2 separate regions of the Homo sapiens genome follow, and region 1 is linked to region 2. Evidence: promoter capture Hi-C in 16 types of primary human blood cells and fetal thymus (Javierre and others, 2016). All regions are on one chromosome and are shown on one strand. Each heading gives the region's core, a stretch centred on a gene start or on the middle of the fragment in contact. The rest is flanking DNA. Distances are from core to core; before and after follow the strand shown. Region 1 overlaps VAC14 (VAC14 component of PIKFYVE complex). Region 2 holds the start of CALB2 (calbindin 2).

Region 1 (6,418 bases), core at 814-3,313, 650 kb after region 2:
GCTCAGAGGGGCAGTGGCGTGATCCTGGTGGGGAGTGGAGGGAGCAGGCCTCTTGCCCACCAGCGCAAGTTCTGCTATAGGGCGCCTCGCCTGTAACCCAGAGCTAGGACTAAGACATGTCCCCTCGGGTGACTTCCAAGGACGCCTCATGTCTGGGGCCCTCTTATTTCTCACGCGTTTAATCCAGGGAAGATTTCCTGGGCTGGCAGGGAACATGTGGATGAAAAGCCTATTTCATCCGTCTTAAAATTCTCTGAAAATGGCTGATCACAAAAGGAATTTTTTCAGCCTCCCGGGAGGGGGTGGGGGAGGGTACAAATAGGAGAACCCCTCCCCTTCCATTTGGCCGAGAATAACTGAAGGAGCCCCCTCCCAGCCATGCTGTGGCCCACCACTACGGCTGTGGCACCTCCATCCTCCCAGTCCTTTGAGACTCTGATCTTTTTACCGGCCTCTCAGAGGCCGCCGTGAGGCTGCTCTGATATTTGCTCTTTGTTACCACTGGTGAGTATTCATGTTTAACTTCTCGTCCTGTTTCCTGACACTTATCTCAGTGCTCTTTAAGTGGGCACTTATAAAGCCTAGAGAAAGCCATCTCAGTTCATAAAATTTCACAAAACCCCTGGACTAAAGATGTGAAGACAAGAAAGGCACTCATGGCTCTAGCTCCTAATCACAGCCAGAAAGGCAGGAATGGCCCGTGCCCAGGGCAGCAGCTGTGAGCTGTGCTTCCTCTTGGGGTGCTGGGGCTATGCAGGTGGGCCAGGCCACATGGCTGTCAGGAGGCCAGGGAGAGTCCAAGCACAGGTCTTGCCCAAGAGCTGACCTCTTTATCTTTCTGTTTGAACAGAGGAGGCCAGGGCTGTGCACAGCAGGCTCGGGACCGTGAAGGTAGAGACCAGCAGGGAAACAGTGAAATGCCAAGCAGAAACGTAAACCAGGACCCAGACTCTGCACAGGTGGGGGTGGGGCCTCAAGAAGGCAAGTGTCAGGGCCTTCCGCCTAGAGCTCCAAGGCCGAGCCAGGCCCTGCTGCCACCCATCCTCTCAGACTCCTGCCAGAGTCTCCTCCTTCCCTCAGGAGGGCATGGCCATGCCTGAAGCGATCAGGCCTGGTGAGGCAGTTGCAGGCAGCAGGTCTCTGGCCGCCCCGGAAGCTTGTTGAGAGTACAGATCGTGGACCTCCTGGAGGTGAGGCCCGCACGTGGTCCATGCATACAGCCAGGCTCTGGGGTTCCTCAGTTAGGGTATTCCTGGCTTGAGGGACCCTCTTTGTTCTAGAGGGTAAATGCGCAGCCTTCTGGGTGGATGAGGACACTGATGGGACAGGGGCTGGCGGCTCCCCGCTGAGGGACGTGGAGCTGAAGCCATGCGCATGGCGCCCAGGGCAGAGCACTCGAGGTGCCCCCAGAAACCAGAATGGCAGCCCCTGGCCGGAACTCCTTCAGAGCGCAGGAGGTCCTTTGAAGGAAAGTTGCCACGGGAACACGAGAGACTAGTGAATCACTGTAATCACCCAGGGCCCATGACCAGGAGGACAGCCCATCTGGTTAAATAATTTGGGGGAGGGAAATGTTGACACGGGGCTATGGCCATATGAACACTGGGGCTGCTGGACCCAAGTTGGGTCCGTGGCTTCAAGGCCAGAGGGGCCGAGTGTGGGCCCTGCCGAGGCCTCCGTGTCTTGGTCCAGCACCGACGAGGCAGAAGGGGAGGCTCACCATCTGTAAACTGTGGAATACGCAGCAGCTGGAGTGCTCCCTGGCCTGGAACAAAGGGACTAGTTTGGGAATCGTCGCCTGAAGTAAAGGAAAACAAACAGCTTGGTGATCAGAACACGGGCAAGGGGCGTCGCCAGACATTGTTGGGGCCGGAGTAGCTCTGGCCACCTTACTCGGGTCCCAGCACTGCTGTCCCTCACCCGCCTCATTCCTCACAAGTCCCCCTGCGGTTTGCAGGGGAAAATGGCAGAGATGCAGGGATGCCTTTCCATTACCCGTCCCAAGACAGACTCAATCTCCGAGGACCCTGTGTGAGGTCACATGCCACAGGGTGAAGGGGTGTCTCTGCCCTGGGCATACAAGCTGCAGGGAATGGGTGGGAAGGGGAGCCAGCCAGGGAAGGGAGGTCTGTGTCCCTTGCAGATGCCACAGAGCATGGGAACATGTTCATGGGAACATGAGTGCCAGGTCAGAAACCCAAGTTCTGGCCCCTCTGTGGCCCTGGCTGTGTGGCCTGGGACCAGTCCTTGGCTTCAGTTCCTTCCTGTCCCATGCGGGTGGCAGGGGCGTGCAAGGGCAGGCAGGGCCAGGAAGCAGCGTGCCAGGCGGTGGCGGCCTCCTCGTGGGCAGGGCTGGCCTCCACGGGGGCAGCTGAGCACATCCTCAGGAGGAAATCCTGCTTAGAGGGTTCAAGCCCAGAGGGCTTCAAAGGGAGAGAAAGGTTACAGCTGCAGTTCTCCAGCAGAGCCCAGGAGGCCCCAGGGCAGGTAGGGTTCAGGGATGCCATTTCCCTGGCCATTTCCCTGGCAGTGTCAGCCAGGGAATGTATCAGCCAGTTCAGAGCACCAGCCTTGGCCATGTCTCCCTGGGCACCAGGAATCTTTATATTAAAATCTCCCCAGCCTGGACCTCAGGCAGTAGCTGGCCTGACTCCCATACTCAGGAGCTGCTGCTCCCAACTGGTTTCCGGGAACCTGCTGTTGGAGTCAGCCCCGTGGACTTTCTCCGCTGGGTCAGAGTTTGGGTCCAGGCTACAGAACTATGGCTGCAGTTTCAAGGCCCTGCTTCCCTCTCGTACCCTTGGAGACAAACCATTGCCCTAGGAGGGTAGAACTAAGTGTGGATCACAGGCCAACACCATCCCAGCCAGGTGTGGTCAGTGCCATCCACCCACAGAGGTGGCTCCAGCGGGAGAGTGGGGTAAAAGGAGCTGGCTACAGATATGCTGCCCCGGAGCCACAGGAAGCTTCTGGAGAAACTCGCTCCAGTCCACACCAGAAGGCCCCAGTGATCTCTGCAGCTCAGGAGGTCCAAACTGTCTTCCCGGAAAAGTGTGTCTAAGGCTCTGTGCTGTGTAGGCCCTGGAGCTTGTTGGGGGACAAAGGGGTGGGTGGGCAGCAGTGAGTACTTGGTGCTGGGGTTAGGCTGACCAAGGGGGTCTTTGGCAAGGCCTCTCATCTGTGCCGCACATGGCATTCTCTGCTAGAAAGGGCTCTGGGCTGAAATCACAAGTGGCCCATGCTGAGGAGTTGAATGTACACGATGTTCCTAATGTACTGTCATTTGTGGCCAGGATTAGGAAGGAAATGGTGATTCCAGCTTGGAGGAAATCCCTGTGGCAAGAGAGGGCAGGAGCCCAGCAGGGACCCAAGGGCTTGGGCACTTCTCAGCACTTCTTGGAGTTGATTATCATGGAGACAACAGGATTTCCTTTAGTGACCAGTCCCTTTGTTTTCATTTGCACTGAGGATTCAGCATGCAAGAAGGTCCCTGCGGCCGTGCCAAGGCTTCATGGCCGGGGGACAATGGTCTCCAGGCAGGGGCCAGACCGGCCGCACTCTTGCCCCTCCTCCCCGCACCCAGCTGTCTCCTCACCCCGGCCTTGCCCTCCTCACACTGCGTTTTTCTCCAACACCAAGACACTATCTCAGCAGATACCCCATCGGTCCTTCCTGCTATCTCAGCTTCAGAGCCTCCAGCACAGGGTTACACGCCTGTCCCCAGCCCTCGCCATCTGACCTGCATCCAGCCGTATTCTGGGGTGTGTCTATGTGGGATAGAAGGCGCAGCCTCTTTTCTAAGACACAAACGCAGACCTCATTGTGAGTCAAACACCTGCTGAGTTCCCTCACAGGGACTCCTTGCAGAATGCGAAATGCTTCCGCCAGAGCCAGACACCCGCCAAGAACCCTGATAACACAGTTCAGAACCCACCTGACTCTGAAGCCCCTTGGCCTGCAGTTCCATGTGCATGCCCAGCCCCACGGCCAAAGTAACCCAGGCCACCTTGTCCCTTCCTGGAAGTTAATTTTCTGTCCTACAAGCATTCATCTCCCCCATTGCCTGTAGGGGCCCAGCCCTAGGCCTTGTGGTGTAAGCTGAAAAGGAACCAGGGCTCAGGGAGGGCCCAGGGGCCAAGTACCACCTTAGGAAGGAAATTGGTGGGAACTAGCAGCAGGTGAGGCAGGAGACAGGGGAGGGCTGTCCTGGGAAAGAACAGGGGGCTTGAGTACCTGTGAATGGACACAGGGGACGGGGTGGTCAGACTGAAAAGACACATGGAAAATAAGGCCAAGGCAGGTGCGGTGGCTCACGCCTGTCATCCCAGCACTTTGGAAGGCCAAAGCGGCAGATCACCTGAGGTCAGGAGTTCAAGACCAGCCTGGCCAACATGGTGAAACCCAGTCTCTACTAAAAATACAAAAATTAGCCAGGTGTGGTGACGGGCGCCTGTAATCCCAGCTACTCAGGAGGCTGAGGCAGGAGAATCACTTGAACCCAGGAGGCAGAGGTTGCAGCGAGCCAAGATCACACCACTGCACTGGATGACAGAGCGAGACTCCATCTTGAAAAAAAAAAAAAGAAAAAAGGCCAAGCCAGCCCGATGGGCCAAGGTAGAAGATGACTTCCATTCTGAGGAGAAGGCAGAGCCCCTCCCGTGGCAGCAAGGGTCATCTGACTCCACCCTGGGCAGTTCAGAAAGCGGGAGTCAACTTGCTCTCTAGAGCAAGCCCCAAACTTAGGGTGAGGGACCTGCTAATCCTGGGGGGCTGAGGCTTCAGCTGCCTCTGTGAGACTGTTTCGTTTTCTGTGGCAGCTCCCACCCAGATGAGACCTTCTATGGAGGTCTCTAGATGAGCCCAGCACAGGTGTCTGGGACCTCCCAGAGCCCGATGGCACCTCCTCTTGCACAGAGGGACAGATGGCTAAGAGGACTGAAGGCCTCTTCCTGTGCCCCTCCTCCCTCCATCCCCTTTCCACCAGCTCCCTACAAAGCCCAGAAAAACAAGTTCCGCATCCTCCTCCTCCTCCCACCCCACTCCCTGCAAGAAACTTTTAAGTGTACCAGACACATCGACTGCATTAAACAACGATGAATTTTTAAGGCATGAGTTGGCAGGGTTACCATGGCTGCCTTTGCCCTGAGGGGCACACTGCCGAGGATTGATTGAAATAAATAAAACAGATTTACAGTTTTCATACTTGGAAGCAGAGAGTTGGAAGGGAAGAGAGCAGAGGGGGAGGGGCAGGATGCAGTGAGATTCTGGAGCGTTCTGGACTAGAGATGGGAGGCTACTCCCTCCTCTCCCTATCCTAAGGTTATACTGACCCAAAAGCTGCTTTCTCTTTAAATTCCTAAAGGATCCCAGCTGTGGGGCAGGAACAAGGCAGGGAGGAGGCCCTTTTCCGGTGGGAGCGGTCCAGGCCTTCTCTGTAGTTTGTAGCCTTGATATTAGGTTGCACCTCAGATTTATTGGCCGTGAGACTCCAGGTGTCTCCTAGGAAAGTACTGGGGTCCATTGGCCTTGGACCACTGAAGGGGATGGATGTGGGCACCATCCAGCATCCAATGTAGAAAGGAAACAAGGGCTATCCAGGCGTGGTGGTTCACACCTGTAATCCCAGCACTTAGGGAGGCCGAGGCGGGTGGATCACTTGAGGTCAGGAGTTCAAGACCAGCCTGGTCAACATGTCGCTACTAAAAATAGAAAAATGTGCCTAGTATCGTGGCACATGCCTGTAATCCCAGCCACCAAGGCAAGAGAATCGCTTGAACCCGGGAGGCAGAGGTTGCAGTGAGCTAAGATCGCACCATGGCACTCCAGCCTGGGTGACAGAGCAAGATTCCGTCTCAAAAAAGAAAATAAACAAGGGCTCGCCCCTCTGTGCATGGTCAGTGAGCCACAGGCAGCTGGGGATGGAAATGAAGGAAGGAGGCCTGGCCATAGGGAGAAGGGAGGGGCCTCTGAGCCAGGATGCCCTGCCCTCAGCAGGCACCTGAAGCCTGTTGCCCTCCTGCTGGTTTGCCCAGTCCTAAGGCGACTTGCAGAGAGACCGGTGGAGTCCACCCAGCCCACACTGTCCTCAGAATCAGCATCCAGCCCAGCCTCTGAGGGACCTGGAGCCAGGACTACCTGCCCAGTCACCCATGTAAGAACCCCATCCCCATCCACAGCTGCCAACAGCCTGCCAGGGAGCACAGCGATCGCTGACCCCATGCCCCATGACACCCTCTGACCAAAGAGCTGGGCTTGCAGGCAGGGTCCCCACCAGGCCAGTGGGGCTAGAGAATTGGACCTGCTGGGGTGGGAAATGAGCACCACCAGAGGGTCCTGGTGCCAGACTGGAGAAGCAGAGGCATGAAGAACCCGATAGGGTTCTTGGGGTGGTTGGGCAGTAGGAGGAGACCTTCCTGTA
Region 2 (6,521 bases), core at 1,393-3,892:
GAGGGGAGGAAGGTCGCCCAAAGCCTAATTCTGGATCCTTTTGTGGAATTCCGATTTGGCTGTATACATATCTTCCTAAGTCACCTCTCTCTCATCTCTGGTATTTTAATCCTCATGGCCCTCCTTCTCTGTCGGGTCCATGGCCTTTCCTTGGGACTTCCCTGAGGCTGTGATGTAGAGATGGCAGTGGAAGTCTGATGGACAAGGAAGAAGGTGCAAGCATCAAGCTCCCCCTTCACCCCGGAGCAGGAGGGAGCCAGAGGCACAATGGCTTTAGGAGGCTTTGAAGATCATGGGTTTGGTGGTAGCTTAACTACACTCTAGCCAAGCCAAGGACCCCATTTTGGGATACACGAAACTGCCCATCAACCCCAAGGGTGGGCTGGGGGCTTTTCTTTGGGGGAATGGGAGGGAGACTTATACCTATCATCATGGAAAAAAACCCTCTTCCAAACCAAGCAGGTGTTCAGGAACCAGAGTGGGAGAATAAACGCTGGCCAGGAACCAGCCCCACCAGTAACTTGCTCCATGACCTCGGAAAAGTCAACCCCTGTGTCTGTTTCCTCATCTGTATAAGGGGAGTCATGGTCTGCCCAGCAGCCTCACACCTTGAGAAGGTGCAATTGTGCTTAAGTACAATGTCTCAGATCAACGTAAGGATCTGCGTGGTTATGGACAGTGCTCTTGCTTGTCCCTCTGAGAATGGGGGAAAGTAGAACTATAGAGTCCTCTGTTTATAGCTGACTCATCTACCAGGAAGCCAGTGGTGTAACCTTGGCTGCTTGGTAACTTTCCTTGAATCATGCAAGTCTGGTGCAGATAAACTGGCAGGAGCCTCCTTAGGGAATGTGCATGTCATCTGGAATACTAAAAGGCTGCACTTCTCTTAGGAGAGCACTTTGTACCAAGGGAATTTTATGGCAGGAGCTGGGGATTGGAAACACAATCCCTCCTTAGCCCCATTTTACAGATTTAACAATCTACCCACTTCCATCAGTAATTCATAGGCAGATCACAGTCCTAACTCAGGTATTCAAATGCCTAGTCCCCTACCCCTCTAGCTTTCTCAGTTGGCTCCAAGGAAACAAAATTTCACCCATTAGCATCCCCAGACATTAACCCCTGCCTCCCCATAGCACTCTGGGCAGAGGATCTCTGCCCAGCCACCTCCACACCCTGCCAAGGCGAGGAAGGGAGGAGGGAAGAATGGAGTGAGGCACACCTGATGCCCCTCTGTTTTCCATCCCCCTTGCTCTCAGACCCCAGGATAAACTCCCTGTCATCCCACACAGATCTGGGACAGGGGCCTGAATGACAGGTGTCAGAGCCCACAAGGCTGAGCCTGGCCCCCTGGGGGGCTGTGCAGTGCAGTGGTTAAGAACTTGTCTTCTGGAGACAGCATCTGTCTTAGCCTTTCCCGTTGGCCTCCCTTTGGGGTCAGCCCCTCCAGGAGCCATTAGCTACCCGAGGGGAGGGTAGCTACAGACACCACAAAATGTCTGAGATGCCAGGATATTTTGGATGCTCATCTTAGCCAGGTCTGTGCGTAGAGAGGGAAATCAGATCACTTATTTTTTCGGAGTAACAGAAACAGAGTCTCTAGTGATATCAAAAGCCTCTAAAGGAGGACCACCCTTTATGCCTGAGTCAGACCACCACAGACACTTGGAATCCCAGTGCTGGGGGCTACCTCCAAAGGTCATTTGGTCTGGCCCTTGCTTTTTGGGTGAGTCAGTGTCAAGACCACACAGAGCAGAGGGTTAGTCACTGAGGCACTTAGGGTGGTGCCTCCCCCTACCCAGAGATGAAGTCACCAAGAGTACCCAGGATTATCACTATGAGGGAACAGGTCTGGGACTGGCACCCCAACGCTGCCCGCCACCACACCCACTGCTGCTGTATTGGGAAACCTACATGCCCACGGCGGCTGGAAAATGGACAAAGGAAGCAGGGGGGTGTTCAGGGCCCCCAATGCCATTTTCCACTCCTGCTCCCAGCCAATCAAGCTGGGGAGGCCACGTTTCCCTTCAGGATCCCCTAATTTATCCCAGCCTCCAGCAGGGTAAGGGGGCTAACCTAGCATTCAACAAAAGGGGAAGAGGAGGAAAGAAATGAGTGGTCTTCTGAGACCTGTGGCTGGAGCAGCTGAAGGCAGGGGAGGTGGGGGAGATGGCAGGGGGAACCTGGAGGCCTTCCCAGCCCAGGCCACCTCTCTGAGAAAGCTCCCACTTGCTCAGAATAAAGGTGCAAATGCGGGTGGGCTCTGGGTCATCTATGTTAGGGAAGAAAGTTACTGACAGTTGTGCCCAGAGCAGCCGGATGTCTCCCAAACCCGGGACCACTACCCCAGCAGGCTCTGCGACCAGACCACCTCCTGAGGGCAAACGTACACCTGCCCGCATTCAGCGCCGCCCCCTGCCCCCTTCACCGCAGGTCCCCTGGGTGCCAATGGGCACAGAAGTTGGGAGCTTTACTGACCGTCTGCGTCAAAGTGCTTCCATATTTCCAGGAACTGGGACGCCGTCAGCTCGGCCAGGTGCAGGTAAGGGGGCTGCTGCTGCGGGCCAGCCATGGCGAGCCGCTCGGAGACCTCAGCCTGCACCGCTCCCGCTCCGCGCCGGCTGGGCTCTGGCACTCGCGCTGGGGTTGTGCGCCACGCTGCCCTTATATACGCTCTGGAGCCTGCGCCTGCGCCCGGCCGCCAGAAGGGGGCGCGCGCGCTCAGGGAATCCGACCGGGGCGCGGCGCGGCGGGGGCGGCGGCGCGAGAGGCTCGGCCCGGACTCCTAGAGGGCCCTTACCTCTGCGCTGAGACCCCTCGGCGCGGGGCCAGGGACACCCGGAGGATTTTCGGTGAAAATGAGGGAGAGGCTGCCCTTGCCTTCCCTCCCGACCGTCTTGAGTACATCCACCACTTATTATTGCTGGCAGTAGCAATAATAATAACAGCAGTAACAACACTAATAGTAATACTAACACAAACTTGACAAATATTTAGCACTCGGGCTTCGGAGTTCACTAGGTCTCTGTCGTGCCTCCTCTCTTCTGATCCTTCCACAGCAGGAAGAGCTGGGACCACTTTTCTGATGAGGTACTTGTGACTTCAGATGATTAAGTGACTGGCCCAGCAAATTAGTGGCAGGGCTACAATTTGAACTCAGCACTCTTTCCACGCCGCACGTGGCTCCTTCATGGGGCTCAGTCTTGCAGAGCAGCCAAGAGTTCTCAAGGCTTTAGTGGGGAGCAGCTGGAATCAGCAGTGCCCCGGGAGGATTCCGATGGAAGTGGTGTGGGGTGGGGGTGGGGGGCTTCCACTGTCTGTTTGGGTCTTCGTATATCCGTCCCCTCGGAGCCTCCCTCCACCCCTGGTACCTGCCTCACGCTGGCCATGCTCTGGGGGGCTTTTAGACATTTGGCCAGGGGGTGGCAGAACTAGATCAACCCGTACCAGGTCTTAACCACGCCCACCTAGGGACATCGTGGGAATGTGCCTGCTCCAGTGGACAGAGAACAACGTCCAACTCTGTCTTGGGGATGTTCTGAGCTGGTCTCAGAGAAAATAGACGCAGCTACTGAGCGCACATCCTGAGGGCAGCAGACAGGACTCCCCAGCAGGGAGCTGGGCCCTCTCCCCATTCTCTCCTGCGGTCTGAGCCCTTAGGGGTCTGTCCTGGCCTTGTGGTGTGGTAAGGTAAGACACATTACCCACAGAGTGACAGCATCATCCCTCCTTTCTCCCCTCTCCTGCTACGGAGTGACTGAGACATGAATTGGCGATCTTTAACATGTGCTAATGAGTGTTAGCTGAACCACCTTCCAAGAGGAGAGTGAAAGGCAAGGAGGTAAGTGAGAATGAAAAGGAGGTCGCTGGGGGAGAGGGGAACCCAGGAGGAGACAGAGAGAGGGTTGTCCCTTGGAGAGAGGGCCAAGCCCAGAGCGAGTCTCAAAGGGGCAATAGAGAATGCAGGTTCCAAAACCACTTGTTCTTTGCCTAGGGTGAATGTGTTTAGAGTTACTTGCAGGAACAGACTGGGGGGAGAAGTCATCAAAAGCTAGCTTTAGAGGTACCCATCCACCTTGCTGAGAGATTCACCAAAGTCCCTAGGGAGGCAGGATGACTCAGTGGTTAAGAGTAGGCACTCAAGAATCAGGCTGCTTGGGTGTGAATCCCAGAATAAGCTGTGTGACCTTGAGCAAATTATATAACCTGTCTCTGCCTCAGTTTTTCTCTTCTGCAAAATGGGCATGTGGGCATACGCCTTTTAGAATTGTTGGCTGGGTGCCGTGGCTCATGCCTGTAATCCTAGCACTTTGGGAGGCCGAGGTGGGCAGATCACGAGGTTAAGAGATTGAGATCATCCTGGCCAACATGGTGAAACCCAGTCTCTACTAAAAAAAAAAAAAAAAAAAAAAAAAAAAAAATTAGCCAGGCGTGGCGGTGCATGCTTGTAATCCCAGCTACTTGGGAGGCTGAGGCAGGAGAATCGCTTGAACCCGGGAGGCGGAAAGGTTGCAGTGAGCCAAGATCGCACCACTGCACCCCAGCCTGGGCGACAGAGCGAGACTCTGTCTCTAATAATAGTAATAATAATAATAATATAATTGTTCTGAGGATTAAATGAGTTAGGGCTCCTGCCGCCCTTCATGGAGCCAGTGATCAGTGGTTGGCTTGGCAAGAAATTTCTCAGTCAGCATCACCTCCCCTGGGGTAGCTAATGAATGGATCCTGGAGGGGCTGACCCCAACGGGAGGCCAACGGGAAAGGCTAAGACAGATACTGTCTCCAGAACACAAGTTCTTAACCACTGCGCTGCACAGCCCCCCACGGGGCCAGGCTCAGCCCTGTGGGCTCTGACACCTGTCATTCAGGCCCCTGTCCCAAATCTGTGTTGGGTGAGAGAGCTCATCCCTGCTTCTCCAAGAAGCAAAGCCAGTGTCTCCATGCTACTTTGGTTTTCCTGGTGAGGAGTAAAGAGTGAAGCTCCTACTTCCTGCTTTCCAGAGCTGTTGAGATCAGGGGGACATGGTTCTGGGTATGACAGTAGGGTGGCCACAGTGACCTTTAAACTGTCTACTGGGACAGTCTTGCCTCGTTCATTTCAGATGCACAGTTGGTCTGTTTCTGGGAGGCCCATTCCTGGAGGACTGAGGAGCCCAAGCTGGTGCGTTTGTGGTTTATCTCCAAGTTGAGTCCTGCAGAAACAGCCACATTGAGCAGTTACAAGTTCCTGCCCTGGAGTCAGATAGATATGGGCTCAAAACCCTCTTGCTGGTTGTGAGGCCTTGGGCAAAGCTATTTAACCTCTTTGAACCTTTCTAAAAATCAAGGTAATTAGTTTCACAAAGTCAGTGGAAGCACCAAAAAGAATGTAATCAAGGGGTTAGCTAGCAAGAACCCCAGCAGCCGTAAGTGCTTAATTAATAGGCAGGTATTCTTACCAATGCAAGGATGTGAGGAGGGATTTTTCTTGTTGTTCTGAAATAGTGGCAGTTAGGCCACATCTGGAATCACAGCAATCAGATGCCTCGTGTCTTCCTGGCTTGCTCAGCCTGCCCGCCACCACCCACCAAGGCCAGGGATTATCAGGGGAGATGTCTGGGTGCGGGAGAGAGGAGCATTGGCCTTCTGGGAGTGCAGCATTTGTGGCTGTCCTGAAGTCAAGTTTTGTTGGAGGAACCCCCAGAAATCCCCTTCAGGTTGTGGGGGATTTCAGCAGCAAGGAGGAACTGGAGATGTCACCTGGCTCCAGAGTGGGCTGGGGTGAGCAGTGTTCTGGAGTTTGGGCCACATATGGAGTTGGGACTGGCGCTTGCTTCTGACTCAGAGCTGTCTGATGGCCTATGAAAGCAGCTTAGACTGCCCTGTCCTGCGTCTAGAAGGAAGATGGGAGCCACCATGGTTCTCGGCAGCCCTTGGGGGTTGCTATGGCTCCTGGGAAAGGTGCATATAGTTTAAAGAGGGGGCCGAAGCCAGATACCTGCTGGTGTTTATGATATCCTCGGTGTTGAGGAAGCTAGAGCGGAGCTGAAGACCGCTCCAAAAAACCTTCACTCCACTATGCACAGGCCCTCAAATTCCTCAGAGATCAGCAGCGGGAGCCAAAGCCTGGGATGCTCTTACAACCTGCAAGCGACCAGAGAGGTAGGAAGACCTCCCGCCCCTCATCTCTCCTTGCAGCTCCCTCTGCCCTACCAGGAGGGGATGTCTTAGAGCCAGCCATCCCTTCTCTCCAGGCTCAGCTCCAGACCCAAGCTCCTTGTCCAGTTTGCAATGGGAAAGGAGAAGAGCTTTGCATTGGAGAAGAGACTGGAGTCTTAGCTGGACTGGTCCAAGTTTCAATAACCAAATGTGTGAGGAGAAACATGGACTCAGATAAGAAATCATTCAGAGATAGGAAAGAGAGGTTCGATGAGCGTATTTTAAAGCAGTGACGGTAAAGACGGAACATTTATGAGCACATTTCCGTGAATTAAGGCTCTTGTAAGTAATTTCAGATGTCTGGGGTTCTGCTTCCCTTCCAG

Evidence for each region. The method cuts DNA at HindIII sites, captures the fragments that hold promoters and counts their contacts. A CHiCAGO score of 5 or more calls a contact.
Region 1: a fragment that was not itself captured here is called in contact with the fragment with the promoter of CALB2 in region 2 in 2 of 17 cell types (M0 macrophages and M1 macrophages); the score reaches 6.8 in M0 macrophages.

The regions. Positions count from the first base shown.
Region 1 is chr16:70,705,966-70,712,383 of GRCh38, reverse strand. All of the region lies in intron 14 of VAC14 (VAC14 component of PIKFYVE complex), which reads left to right. Among named protein-coding and RNA genes, the nearest start is that of MTSS2, 23 kb to the right of the region's middle. RefSeq lists an enhancer at 6,391-6,418. The HindIII fragment of the contact is 1,810 bases long and covers 1,159-2,968 here.
Region 2 is chr16:71,354,844-71,361,364 of GRCh38, reverse strand. It overlaps CALB2 (calbindin 2), which reads right to left and starts at 2,642. Exons shown (of 11, transcript NM_001740.5): 1 at 2,479-2,642. The coding sequence starts at 2,572. RefSeq lists enhancers at 625-919, 1,946-2,911 and a silencer at 2,614-2,843. The HindIII fragment of the contact is 14,542 bases long and covers 1-6,521 here.